Regions from separate parts of the Homo sapiens genome. Here region 2 is linked to region 1. The links are contacts of gene promoters, found by promoter capture Hi-C in human tissues and cell types (Jung and others, 2019). All regions are on one chromosome and are shown on one strand. The core of a region is centred on a gene start or on the middle of the fragment in contact, and the rest is flanking DNA. Distances in the headings are between cores, read along the strand shown.

Evidence for each region. Contacts are between HindIII fragments. The study calls those that stand out against the background at their distance.
Region 2: a contact is called between a fragment that was not itself captured here and the fragment with the promoter of KIAA0319L in region 1, in 1 of the 25 tissues and cell types used here (pancreas).

The regions. Positions count from the first base shown.
Region 1 is chr1:35,553,479-35,559,588 of GRCh38, reverse strand. KIAA0319L (KIAA0319 like) reads left to right here and starts at 2,186. Exons shown (of 21, transcript NM_024874.5): 1 at 2,186-2,382; 2 at 5,070-5,239. The coding sequence starts at 5,098. NCDN (neurochondrin) reads right to left here and starts at 1,790. Exons shown (of 7, transcript NM_014284.3): 1 at 1,366-1,790; 2 at 342-482. The coding sequence starts at 1,398. RefSeq lists enhancers at 1-574, 1,953-2,012, 1,302-2,028, 2,029-2,756, 3,557-4,512 and 1 more and silencers at 962-1,171, 2,243-2,382, 2,393-2,492. The HindIII fragment of the contact is 15,948 bases long and covers 1-6,110 here.
Region 2 is chr1:35,602,194-35,609,073 of GRCh38, reverse strand. PSMB2 (proteasome 20S subunit beta 2) reads left to right here. Exons shown (of 6, transcript NM_002794.5): 5 at 3,792-3,841; 6 at 5,700-6,880. The coding sequence ends at 5,807. Among named protein-coding and RNA genes, the nearest start is that of TFAP2E-AS1, 28 kb to the right of the region's middle. The HindIII fragment of the contact is 5,765 bases long and covers 1-4,226 here.

The DNA of each region.
Region 1 (6,110 bases), core at 937-3,436:
CTCTCCAGGCCCAGAACAACCATCCCCAGCCCTCAAGTACTCTGCACTAGTTACTACCTGCTGCTGTTACCCTATGAGTCAGCTTCCATCTGCTCTGGGACGCCCCAGAAAACAGACCCAGGCAGCCCCTAGTGCCACAGCCTTATTCAGTCCCATTCTCCTCTTTGCCCCCATTCTCAGGGGGAGCAAAAAAGAGCACAAAGGTAGGGGTCTTGGGCCTTCGTTGGTGCCTCCAGGGTTGCTAGCACTACGTACATATCCTTGGGGACTCACTGACCCCATTCCTTGGGGGCCCAACCACCCAGCCCTTCCCACCTCCCAATTTTCAGCCAGTTCCTTACTAGCAGCAGGGCTGCAAACTGCTCGCTGTCATTCTTGGCCTCACGGAGGGCTCCCAGGTAGCGCTCCAGGGTGGGGTTTCGGCCCTCTGCCTGGTTCAGAGCTGGCTCGCAATCCGAGGCCATGATGCTCGCCTTGCCCAACTGTGAACACAAGAGGGACTGAGCATCCCTCTGCAGAGGAGGGACGGGGGTGGGGTGGGGGTGAGAGTGGAGGATGGAGGGAGGGAGGGATTAGCACAGAGGGAGGGGAGGAGAGAATCTGGAGGGGTGGACTCCTCAGGACTGACCTCCCCCCAGAAGCCCCTTTAAGGGGCTGGATCTGCAAATCCTTAGGGATAAAGAAGGGACCCTGGTCCAAGGTCACCTCCAGAAAGCGGGAAAGAAGGACCATGCATGCTGCTGCTCAGCCGGACAGCTCTCCTCACCAGTCTCCTGGGGGTGGGCGGGAGCTGGCCCCACTGCTCAGCTGTCCCCCTGGCACCGGAGGCTGGGTTTTATCTCCCTCCACAGGGACACAGAGGGAGTGAGTGGTGAGGACAGACAGGGAGAAATGGAGACATACATGGGTGAAGTTCGATTATCCGGACTCAGGCTGACATGGGAGAAAAGGACACCCCAGGCTTCCTTTCCCCTCCCTTCTTCAGAGGCAGAGATACGCTTCAGAAGTGAGAATACAAGACGCTCAACAGGGAAGGCTTGGAGGCCCCTTTGGGGACCCCACCCCTCCAGCCAGGGCTCTCAGTCGCCCCCGCAGGCTCCTTGCCTCCTCTCCTTTCCCTCCCTCGGGTAGAGGCTGCAGCAGCAGCAGCAGCGGCGGCGGCAGCAGCAGAATTAACCCCTTGCGCTCCCTCTTCTCGCCCTCCCCGTCCCGCTACCAGCCTGTGGATGCCGGCAGGGGCTGGAGAAGCAAGAGGGGGTCCCGGATAGTTCCCAGGACAACGGAGAATCCAAAAGCCGGATAATCGAAGCAGGGCTGCTGAGATGGGGAGATGAGAAGGGGAGGAGGGTTCCTGGCGGTCACCACCTGTCCCGCCGCAGCCAGGTCACAACACGACATTGATGAAGTCACGACAGGGCGGCGATGAGATCACACTTCACGATGGCGCGGTGATGTCACGGAGAGATCACGTCAAAATCACGACATGGGAGACAGCCCCCAAAGATGACAGGGCAAATTAAAAAAAAAAAAGATATATATTGAAAAGGGCTGTGACAAAATGGAGTCTCGACAGGGCACGATGGTGTCGCGATATGGCGCGATGGAGTCGCGATAGGGTCCCCGGGGTGTGTCGGCATCGATCAGCGCCGGCTCGGAGAGGCCCCGGCTGGGATGCAGGGGAGGGCCCGAAGGGGGCTGAGCTCACCAGGCTGCGGCCCCGAGCGGCGAAGTCTTCTCCCAGCGCGATGCTCCGGGAGCCTCGGGCCGCTGCTCACGCCGCGTTGCCCACTCCTGGCTCCAGGCTGCTGCAGCTCCACCCCCACCCCCGCACCGCTCTTGACGAATCCGCGGCTGCTTCACTCCGGGCTCTGGCCAATGGCAAGTCAGGGTGCTAAGCAGTAGGGGGTGCCGCCGTTGCCGCCATCTTGCTTGTGGGTATTGCCCGAGTCTGGGGGCTGGGGCTCGAGCGAAGGAGGCAAGGTGCAGACTGCCTCTGGAGAGCGGGCGGCGAGAGGCTGGGGGCCCAGATTCCTTCGCTTGTGCGTAGTTTTACCCGCCCAGCACTGCCCCTCCTCCCCCTTGGTCTCGCGGCCGGCATTGCCCTTCCCGGGGGAGGGGCGGGAGGGCTTGGTTAGCATGGAGAGTGTGTTTCCGGGTCGGTCCCGGGGAGGTGGGAGGAGGCGGTGTTTCCGGCCGCCGTCGCTGTCCAGGGAGGCTGAGGCGAGAGGTAGCTGTCCGGGTGGGGAGCCCGCACTACCTTCTTCCTCTTCCTCCTCCTCCTCCGGGTGAGGGGAGCGAAGGTTGGGGGTCCCCGAGCCCATGGACCAGGAGGAGGCGGAGGCCGCCGAGAGCCGGGGCCCCGCTATGTGGCCCTGAGCCCCGGTAGGTGGCCGGGGGCGGCTGGCTGCCAGGCCGAGGACCATGGGCTCAGGGGAGGGGCAAGCGGGACGGGCGATGTCAGCGGCTGCGCTGGCCGGATGTTGGGTCCGGAGGTGGCGCCCCTGGCTCGGCCAGGGCAGCCAGCTGCTTCTGTCCTTGCAGGTGCGCAGCTTGGGTCCCAGGCTGAACCCCGCTTCTCTCGGGCCTGGGCCTAGTCATGCAGCTCCCTCCATCCCCTGAGAGCCAGGCAGACAGCCGGGGTTCGGGGCGCTGCCGTCCTTCTTCCACCTTCGACCTCTGCAGCCTAGTCTTTAGTTGCTGTCTCTGATGTTTGGTCTCTCCACCGAGATAGAAAGTTGGTGCAGAATGAAGAGGGGATGGGGTTGAGCACGATGTGTCCATTATAATGTGAAACCTGCCTCATCCACGATTTTGAAAATTATGCCCCACAGAGGGTCCTGTAGTGGCTGCAGTGAGCACAAAGGTGAAATGAAGGAAGTCAAAATTGATAACCTCTGGCGGGATTCCAGGAACTCTTTGGCTTCTGGTCTCATAGTGGTTGTGTCCAACTGACAGTAGTTGCAGTTAGTGAAGAGCATTAGCTGACTCTCCTTGTGCTCTCTCCTGTGATTAACAGACTGAAAACTAGGAACAAATTGGAAAGACGACCTCCCAGAACAATCTGTTCATTTTTCCAGCTATTTGGAAAACAGTGTCTGCAAATATAAGCAAAGCTATTCATGGCAGTCTGTTCTGTAACTTTCCCAAATATCTGAGACTTTTTAAAAAAGAGCTTTATTCTCGATTACTCATACCAACTGAATAGATTGTTTCAGACGTGCTCCATCGTTGTTCAAACATATCTTATCGCTGTGTACATAAATGGAGTTCCACGTATGTAGTTGACAGACTGAACTGTGATACATCCCCCATCAACCTGAAGTATTAAGTAAACATTACCCCCTGCTCTGTCTGAACAGCTGCTGCAACAGAGAGTGCTTTTATTTTGGGTGTACTTGTAACGCCCTAAATGCCAGAACTATTGTGAGCTTCTCTAGATTTTCATTTGTCAAGTATTGTGGGGGTGTGTGTTCTCTCCCTGGGTTGTTACCCTTTGATTCAGTAACAAACTATTCGGATCTTGGTGATGTGTTGTTGTTCTTGCGTTTGGTCAGCAAGCCTTTAACTGGACCCTAGCAGTGATTTGTGCCCTTAGGCAATTATAGGTTTCAGAGGAATGACTGGTTAGGAGTTCAAATGAAATTAACTCTGCCTTTCTCTTAGACGCAAGATTTATTAGACATGGCACTTCTAATCAGCTTGTTAGTCCAGTGGTGTTTATTACTCCATTTTTCAAAAGCTATTCATTTCTTTTCTGCTTCTCCCACCCACCTGTCAGGCTATTGATGACAGCTGTTGAGTCACCTTGAGTTTTAAATCCTTTTGTGGTAGGCAGAAATGTGTTGGGTAAGATTCATACACACCCATACATGCACACATGCATACTCACTCGTTCCCTCTTGGGAGGCTAGAGAAATTGCTGGATGTACTTTCTAACTTAGGCTCCATTTCATAATCTCTTGAACATGTCTCTGGCCCACACACCTCCTTTCTGCCCCCTGCTCCCTGAAATACAACTACAAAACAACTAGAAATAGGAATGGATGGAAGTGAATGAGAACGATGAAGTCCTTCAGATGCATGTGGTTCTGCAAAAGCCTTTTCTTGGGTGGGCTGCACCTTAGTTTTGCAGCTGTGTGTATGTCTGTGGCTGTTTCTTGGTATTAGTCAGTATTGGTATCCAGCCCAGGCAATGCTGATCTCCCTGTATGCTGGCCGTGGATAGGAGTTAGGGGTTGGCAGCCTGTGTCGTTTGCTGGATGTAGATGACAGGTACATAGTTGGACAGAAGTTTTTGAATTGCTTCTTCAGAACTCAGTCAACCCTCATAATGTTGCCAATATTTACGTACTAATTTAGACAATATAGCAAAGTTTTATATGAGGGGAGAAATTTATGGTAAATGAGTTTTTCTGCTGGAAGAGACCTAAATAATCCAGCCCCTAGATTCTGGAGTAGCCAGCATAGTGCCTGACGTAAGTATCTGTTGAATGCAGGGATTGGGGTGGGTAGCATTGAGGTGTAAATTGAATAGATTTTCATGATAATAGTGGTGGGCGGAGACAGTAGCAGACTGGAGAGTGCATGCCCTGCCTAAAGACATTTGCATTCAGAAATTTAAAAAATACTGGGCCAGACATAACCCTCAGGTTACTTTACCTCTGAGGGTGCAACCTCTTCTCCTCAAAAGTAAGAAAGTGTGTTTGGTCAAAGTCACAAAGCTGTTAGTAGCAGAACTGCAACTAAAACTCAGAGATCTTCTTGTCTGCGGGCTGGTACTCTTTCCATTCTACCACATAGGTGATTTACTGTTAGATTAAAAAAAAAAAAAGGAATATAAAGTTTCAGTTTTCAGTGGATTCATTTGATATCCCTTGCTGTGTTGTTATTCTGATAATTATAGGCTACCTCAAAGCCCAGGTTTAAAATTTATAGGCAGGGTTGAGCCGTTAAAGACAAACTTGAAATTTTTCTTTCCCCTAATCTGTCATATTTTCTAGCATTCCACATTTCCAGGAATTAATTATTAATTACTCGGCATGTAATTTCTTCTCTTTCTGTCCTTCTAGTGTACTGGTTCTGCCTGTCTGGAGGGCCATGGAGAAGAGGCTGGGAGTCAAGCCAAATCCTGCTTCCTGGATTTTATCAGGATATTATTGGCAGACATCTGCGAAGTGGTTGAGAAGCCTGTACCTGTTTTATACTTGCTTTTGCTTCAGCGTTCTGTGGTTGTCAACAGGTACTATTTTCTTTATAGATTTAAGATTTTTTTTTTTAGAAAAGGGCATTTTATGTGAGTCCCTCAGTTCATTTTAAGGACTATTAGGAGGCAGAAAAAACAATCTGCTAATTGACAGAAATGGTCATCCTTTTGGTGACTGAGGTCTGTTGGGTTTATTTATTTGTTTTGTTTTGGAACCAGAGTTTAAATTGGATTCTTTTTCATAAGGGAGAATTGGCACAACCGTTTTAAGACTTGATAAAAGTCAACTGGGTATTTCCACTTAATGACTATAAAACCTTGAGCAAATTACCTATTATCTTTGAGGAAGGGTTATTATCTACCTCATGGTTTGATTTGAGGGATAGTATAATTAAAGCATGTAGCACAGCACTCAGCATGGGTGCTTAGTCTTGCTATTTGCCCAGGCTGGTCTTGAGCTTCCTTTCCTTTCCTAAAGGAATCTACACTTATGGGAAAAATGCGTTCCTTACTTTTTCCATAGAGAGGGGCTATGTTGATAGATTTTTTAGACTATGCTTTCCTCCTAGAGATTATTTCACCAGGGTAAAGCCTCTTGCCAGGAATCAGTGCCAAGAAGGCTAAATTTCAAAGGAGAATGCCCTTTCTTTCTTTCTTTCTTTCTTTCTTTCTTTCAAGTTCTTTTGTTGATATTGTGCTTTCATAGTATGAGTGTGAGAAAACAGCAATATGAGAAAGATTTCTGTGTATGCTGCCATTCTGGCCAGTGACCAAAAACCTTCTGCTGTAGAGACCACCATCTGGGATAACTAATCAGCCTTTTTCCCTTATAATTACAAAGATTTCTGTTGCTTTCCTAAAGGAATTGGTGGTCATGATTTTGAGACCCTAGTAATTATTGTATTTA
Region 2 (6,880 bases), core at 95-2,594, 50 kb before region 1:
CCAAAAGCTGATGTAAGTTCTATTTTTTGCCATTCAAAATGAGATAGTACATATCTCTAGAGCTGGGTTTTGTTTTGAAGGAGGATTGGAATAGATGTCACAGTGAATAAAACATTTTTATTGGGTTCTAAAATCCTTCATTTCTAAGAGTTCAAGTTTTTTCACTTATTTTGCTTTGCCTAGATTTTTGGCATCTCAGTAAAGAATGAGTGGGTAAAGCAAGTAGCTGTATATTTGTTTGGAACTTGCAAGGATGAACAGGTCCCCAGCATGACAACTGAAGGTTTCTTTGCTTAAACATCAAAGCTTTCTAAGGCTACAAATCTGAGCCTTCCCTTGGTTGTCACCTAATGGCTGCCTCCTCTTGAAAGAAAAAGCCGTCGCTCTACTTGTCCGTAAAGCGTCAGTTTGGCAAAACTTCAGATACAGGGATGCTTTTTTAAAATTTTATTTTTTAATTGACAAATAATAATTGTACATATATTCATAGAGTACATCATGATGTTTCAATACATGTAATGTAAACAGATCATGGTAGTTAGTATATTGATCATCTCAAACATTTATCATTTTGTGTTGGGAACATTTAGTATCCTCCTTCTAGCTATTTGAAACTATATATTGTTAGCCATAGTAATTTTACAGTGGTATAGAACAATAGAACTTATTCCTCTGTCTATCCATAATTTTCTATCTTTTTTTTTTTTTTGAGGCAGAGTCTCCCTCTGTCGCCCAGGCTGGAGTGCAGTGGAGTGATCTCGGCTCACAGCAACCTCCGCCTCCCAGGTTCAAGCAATTCTCGTGCCTCAGCCTCCCAAGTAGATGGGATTACAGGCGTGTGCCACCACGCCTGGCTAGTTTTTGTATTTTTTGTAGAGATGGGGTTTCACCATGTTGGCCAGGCTGGTCCAGAACTCCTGACTTCAAGTGATCCACCCGCCTTGCCCTCCCAAAGTGTTGGGATTACAGGCGTGAGCCACCGTGTCCTGCCAATTTCGTATCTTTTAACAAATGTCCCCCATCCCTTACAGAGGATTTCTCAGCCTCTAGTATCCTCTATTCTACTTTTTACTTCTATGAGATCAGCTTTTTTAGCTTCTACATATGAGTGAGAACGTGCAGTGTTTTAACTTTGTTCTTGGCTTATTTCACTTAGCAGAATACCGTCCAGTTCCATTCATGTTGAATGACAGTATTTCCTTTTTTATGGATGAATAGTATTTCATGGTGTATATATACCACATTTTCTTTATCCATTGATCTGTTCTCGGACACCTAGGTTGGTTCCATATCTTGGCTATTGTGAATAGTGTTGCAGTAAACACTGGGGTGCAATATTTCCCCAGTGATATAATGATTTCATCCAATATAATGATTTCCTTTCTTTTGGATAAATTCCCAGTAGTGGGATTGCCAGATCATATGGTAGTTCTATTTGTAGTTTTTTGAGGGACCGCCATACTGTCCTCCCTAGTGGCTATACTAGTTTGCATTCCTACCAACAGTGTATAAAGAATTTCCTTTTCTCTACATCCTTGCCAGCATTTGTTGTTTTTTGTCTTTTTGATAATAGCTATTCCTAACTGGGATGAGGTGTTACCTCATTGTGGTTTTGATTTGCATTTCTGTGATGATTAGTGATGTTGAGAATTTTTTCCATATATTTGTTGGCCATTTGTATGTCTTTTGAAATGTCTGTTGAGATGATATGCCCATTTTTTAATGAATTTTTGTTCTCTATTGAGATATTTCGGTTCCTTATATTTTCTGGATATTAACTCCCTGTTGGATGAGTAGTTTGCATGTATTTTCTCCCATTCTGTAGGTTGCCTTTTCACTCTTGTTTCCTTTGCTGTGCAGAAGCATTTTAGTTTGATGTAATCCTGTTTGTTTATTTTTGCTTTTGTTGCCTGTGTTCATGAGATTATTCATAAAATCTTTTTCCAGATCAGTGTCCTGAGGCTTTTTCCCTGTGTTTTCTTCTAGTTTCTGGTCTTAAATTGAGGTCTTTGATCCATTTTGAGTTGAATTTTGTATAGGGTAAGAGGTGAGGGTCTGGTTTCATTCTTCTGTGTATGGATATCCAGTTTTTCTAGCACCATTTATTGAAGAGACAGACTGTCCTTTCCCCAATGAGTGTTCTTGGTACCTTCATCAAAAGTCAAATGTAGATATGTGGCTTAATTTCTTAATTTCTCTATTCTGTTTAATTGGTCTATGTGTCTATTTTTATGCCAGTAGCATACTGTTTTGGTTACTACAACTTTGTGATATATTTTGAAGTCTGGTAGTGGTATCAACTACCAGATTTGTTCTTTTTGTTCAGGATTGCTTTAGCTATTCAGAGTCTTTTGTGGTTCCTTACAAATCTTAGGATTTTTTTCCATAATTCTGTGAGGCATGTCATTGGCATTTTGATAGGGATTGCATTGAATATATAAATTTCTTTGGGTAGTGTTGTCATCTTCATAATATTAATTCTTCTGATCCATGAGCATGAGATGTATTTCCATTCGCTTGTATCCTCTTCAGCTTATTTCATCAGTGTTTTATAGTTTTCGTTATAGAGGTCTTTCATCTCCTTGGTTAAATTTATTCCTAGGTATTTTATTTTCTTTGATTTTTGTGTCTATTGTAAATGGGATTGCCTTCTTGATTTCTTTTTCAGCTAGTTTGTGTATAGAAATACTGATTTTTGTATATTAATTTTGTATCCTGCAACTTTATGGAATTCATTTATCAGATGTGAGAGTTTTCTGGTGGGGTCTTTAGGTTTTTCTATATAGAAGATCATGTCATCTGCAAATAGGGACATTTGACTTCCTGCTTTCCAATTGGGGTACTCTATTTCCTCCCCTTGCCTAAGTGCTCTGGTTAGGACTTCCTAGACACAGGGATGCTTTTGTGCTAAGTTCCATCTTCTGACCCCAGTCCTAACCTCGACTTTAGCCTCTGTGGGCAGTGGGTACTTTGGAATTCTTAGCTTTTACAGACTATAGATGAAGCACAGATAACCACTTCTCTCCTTACATTCCATTCTTCACTGTCAGTATCGTAAGAATCTGGCATGTTCATTCTTTTTTGGTGCTGCCCTCTCGCTCAACCTTAGCCACGCTAGAGCTCCAGGCCACATCCTGAAAAGAATTAGCCTGGCCTCCCAGTGACTTTCTTGATTTGGCATCTGTCAGTAATACAGCTGATTTGCCCACCAAAATAACTACTAGCCACCCCTGAAGCCTGAGTGCATAACATGTCGTCCCAGTTTGCCACGCCCACAGACAGTTCCTTTGGCTCCTATTTGGGGAGAGTCTCAGCCCCATCCTATGAATTCTCTTCCCATTGTTAAACAGAGACCCAGCTGGGAAAACAAGGCTGAAATTCTGACCCCATCGTCTCTTTCCCTGATTTGCAGCTGACTGGGGCAGATGGAATTGATTCAAACCCTGGACTAAGGGGGAGTGAAAGGGGTGGGTTATGATAAAGAGAGACAGGCTGCTGGACTTCTTCAGAGGTGGGCCCTGGCCAGGGGAGGCAGAATTCCTTCATGCTCACCCTTTACTGTAGCAAATCAATTTGCAATGGCTTATAGCTGCTGGAGCACTGGGTCTGGGGCCCCCCCAGCTGCATGTGGAGTAAGTTGATTGCAGGCTAGAAGGCAAAGCATTTTTTGCCTTTTACGTTTGTGTGGCACTGAGACCTGAAGAAGCCAGATTTGGAACTTAATCAAAAGCTTCTGAGAGTTGGATATAATGACAGCACCGGAAGTATTTGGTCTCTGTGTTCTCTTTCAGCTATCTCACGTGAGAGGGCAGTGGAACTCCTTAGGAAATGTCTGGAGGAGGTGAGTAGTTCCCATAGGATCCTGAAAGGAATGTTTGTCTCTCTGTTTGCCAGTGTTGTTCCTGTTCCTCAGTTATATTTTTTCAGATTTTTGCCAGAAGGTGTAATACATACCCACTAACCAGATGTGAAGTTGCTACCAGGGATAGAGTTTGGTGTGGATAGCAAGCTCACTTTTCTCTCACAGATTACCTCCTCAATGTCAGTTTTATAATTTAATTCTTTCTGGTTTATCCAAACCAGTGGTTCTCAAATTTTAGTGTGTGTAAGTATCACCTGGGAAACCTGTTAAACAGATTGCCATCTCTGCCCCAACCCTCAATTCTGAGTCCACTGTTCTGAGGTACAAACTGGGAAGCTCTGCTTTAACTGGCAGTCCCAGGTGATTTTCCTACAGGTGGTAACTGAGGCTGTACTTGAAGAACTTCTGCTCTAGACTTTATTTTTTTATTTGAGACGGAGTTTCGCTTTTGTTGCCCAGGCTGGAGTGCAGTGGCACGATTTCAGCTCACTGCAACCTCCGCCTCTGGGTTCAAGCAATTCTCTTGCCTTAGCCTCCCGAGTAGCTGGGATTACAGTTGCCCACCACCATGCCCGGCTAGTTTTTTGTATTTTTAGTAGAGACAGGGTTTCACCATGTTGGCCAGGCTGGTCTTGAACTCCTGACCTCAGGTGATCCGCCTGCCTCGGCCTCCCAAAGTGCTGGGATTACAGGCATGAGCCACCACGCCCATCCCTGCCCTAGACTTTATACCTGCTCTGTTCTTGTGCCACCTGTAATTGCCATACTGCCTGCTCCCTTAATAGTGCTCGAGTCTTTGTAATCTGTGAGAAAAAGCCTCCCCTAAGAATTCAGGAGGACCATAGAAAGCAACTAGGAAGCTTTGGGCAGAAGGGGAGAGTAGACTTTGGCTTGCGAGGACAGGATTACAGAACACACCCTTTCTAACACTACTCCTTAGAGTCTAAGGCTTTGGGTATAGATGGAGAATGGGGGAATGGGGAGGTCAAAAACCAGCCACATTAGTTTTTTTCATTCTTTTACTGTTCCTGTGGCTTAAGGATGAACTTGACCTCGTGGTTTAGTAAGAGAGTAGGAAGATAAGAGCAGGAGCGTTGGGAGTAATGTCAGTTTGCTTCTTACACAAACCTTTTGTTTTCAGTCCACAGTGCCCACCCCACCCCCCGCTTTTTTTTTTTTTTTTTAAGAGATGGATCTCACTTTGTTGCCCAGGCTGGAGTGGAGTGCAGTGGCACCATCATAGCTCACTGCAGCCTGGATTTCTGGAACTCAAGCGATCCTCCCAAGTAGCTGAGACTACAGACAGGCACCACCATGCCCAGCTCATTTTATTTTTAAGAGATGGGGTCTTGCTATGTTACCTAGGCTGGTCTTGAACTCCTGGGCTCAAGATATTCTTCCACCTCAACCTCCCAATTACAGGCCTGAGCCACAGCTCCTGGCCTCTGCTTCGTTCTGAGGACAATCACTCTTTGTTAGCTTATTATCTTGAGACATTTTAAGAGAGACGTCTGTGTTTACCAGACTGATGGGTAACAGACTATGGGGAACAGAACACTGGATTGTCTCATTCTTTCGTCAGCTGACTGACCAGAGACAGGCTCTTAGTTGCACCTCCCAGTTCAGCCTCCCTGCCTCCCAGTCATCCTCCAGCTGCTGTTTGGGTACCCTCTACCACTAGAGTACTAGTGCCCTACTGCCAACTGCCTCCAGTAGAATATCAGTTCCACAAAAGCAGGGATTTTTGTTTGCTTGTATCCCCAGTGTCTAGAACAGAGCCTGGCACATAGAACTTAGTAATCATTTGTTGACTGATTTCCTCCATGTCTCTCTGCAGCTCCAGAAACGCTTCATCCTGAATCTGCCAACCTTCAGTGTTCGAATCATTGACAAAAATGGCATCCATGACCTGGATAACATTTCCTTCCCCAAACAGGGCTCCTAACATCATGTCCTCCCTCCCACTTGCCAGGGAACTTTTTTTTGATGGGCTCCTTTATTTTTTTCTACTCTTTTCAGGCGCACTCTTGATAAATGGTTAATTCAGAATAAAGGTGACTATGGATATAATTGAGCCCTCTGGTCCAGGTCTCAGTTTACCTAATATTACCTCAGAAAGGATATGGAGGGAAGATGATCTTTTTGCCAGGTCTGACTTTTCTTCCTGCTCCGCCCTCCATTAACGCTCAGTACCCTTTAGCAGCTGACGGCCCCACGTTCTACTCCATGCTTGGCTTCCTTTCCAACTAGCTCTTTCATATATTTTACTTGCTAGTATCTCCATTCTCTCTAAAGTAGTGGTTCTTTTTGCCCTTAAACTTAAATTTTTAAATTAATTAACCTGAATTAATAATACATGCACTTAATGTAACATGCAAACAGTACAAAAACATGTAGTGAAAAATATTTCTTCCAGAGCTGGGTGTGGTGGCTCATACCTGTAATCCCAGCACTTTGGGAGGCCGAGGCGGGCGGATCACGAGGTCAAGAGAGCGAGACCATCCTGACCAACATGGTAAAACCCCGTCTCTACTAAAAATACAAAAATTAGCTGGGCGTGGTGGCACGCACCCCTAGTCCCAGCTACTGGGGAGGCTGAGACAGGAGAATCGGTCGAACCCGGGAGGCAGAGGTTGCAGTGAGCCTAGATCGCGCCACTGTACTCCAGCCTGGCAACAGAGTGAGACTCCGTCTCAAAAAAAGAAGGAAAAATGTTTCTTCCATCCCTATAATCCAGTCATCTGCTTCCTGCTTCCCTTCCTGGAGGAAACTTCAGCTACTAATTTCTTATGTTTTTTAAGAGATATTCTGTTACTGTGTAAAGTATACATACATACAGACACATGCCCCCTTTAAATTTTTTAGATTTATTTATTTATTTAGAGACAGGGTCTCACTCTAGCCCAGGCTGGAGTGCTGTGGCGTAATCTTGGCTCACTGCAACCTCCGCCTCCCGGGCCCAAGTGATCCTCCCATCTCAGCCTCCTGAGTAGCTAGGATTACAGGCGCACACCACCA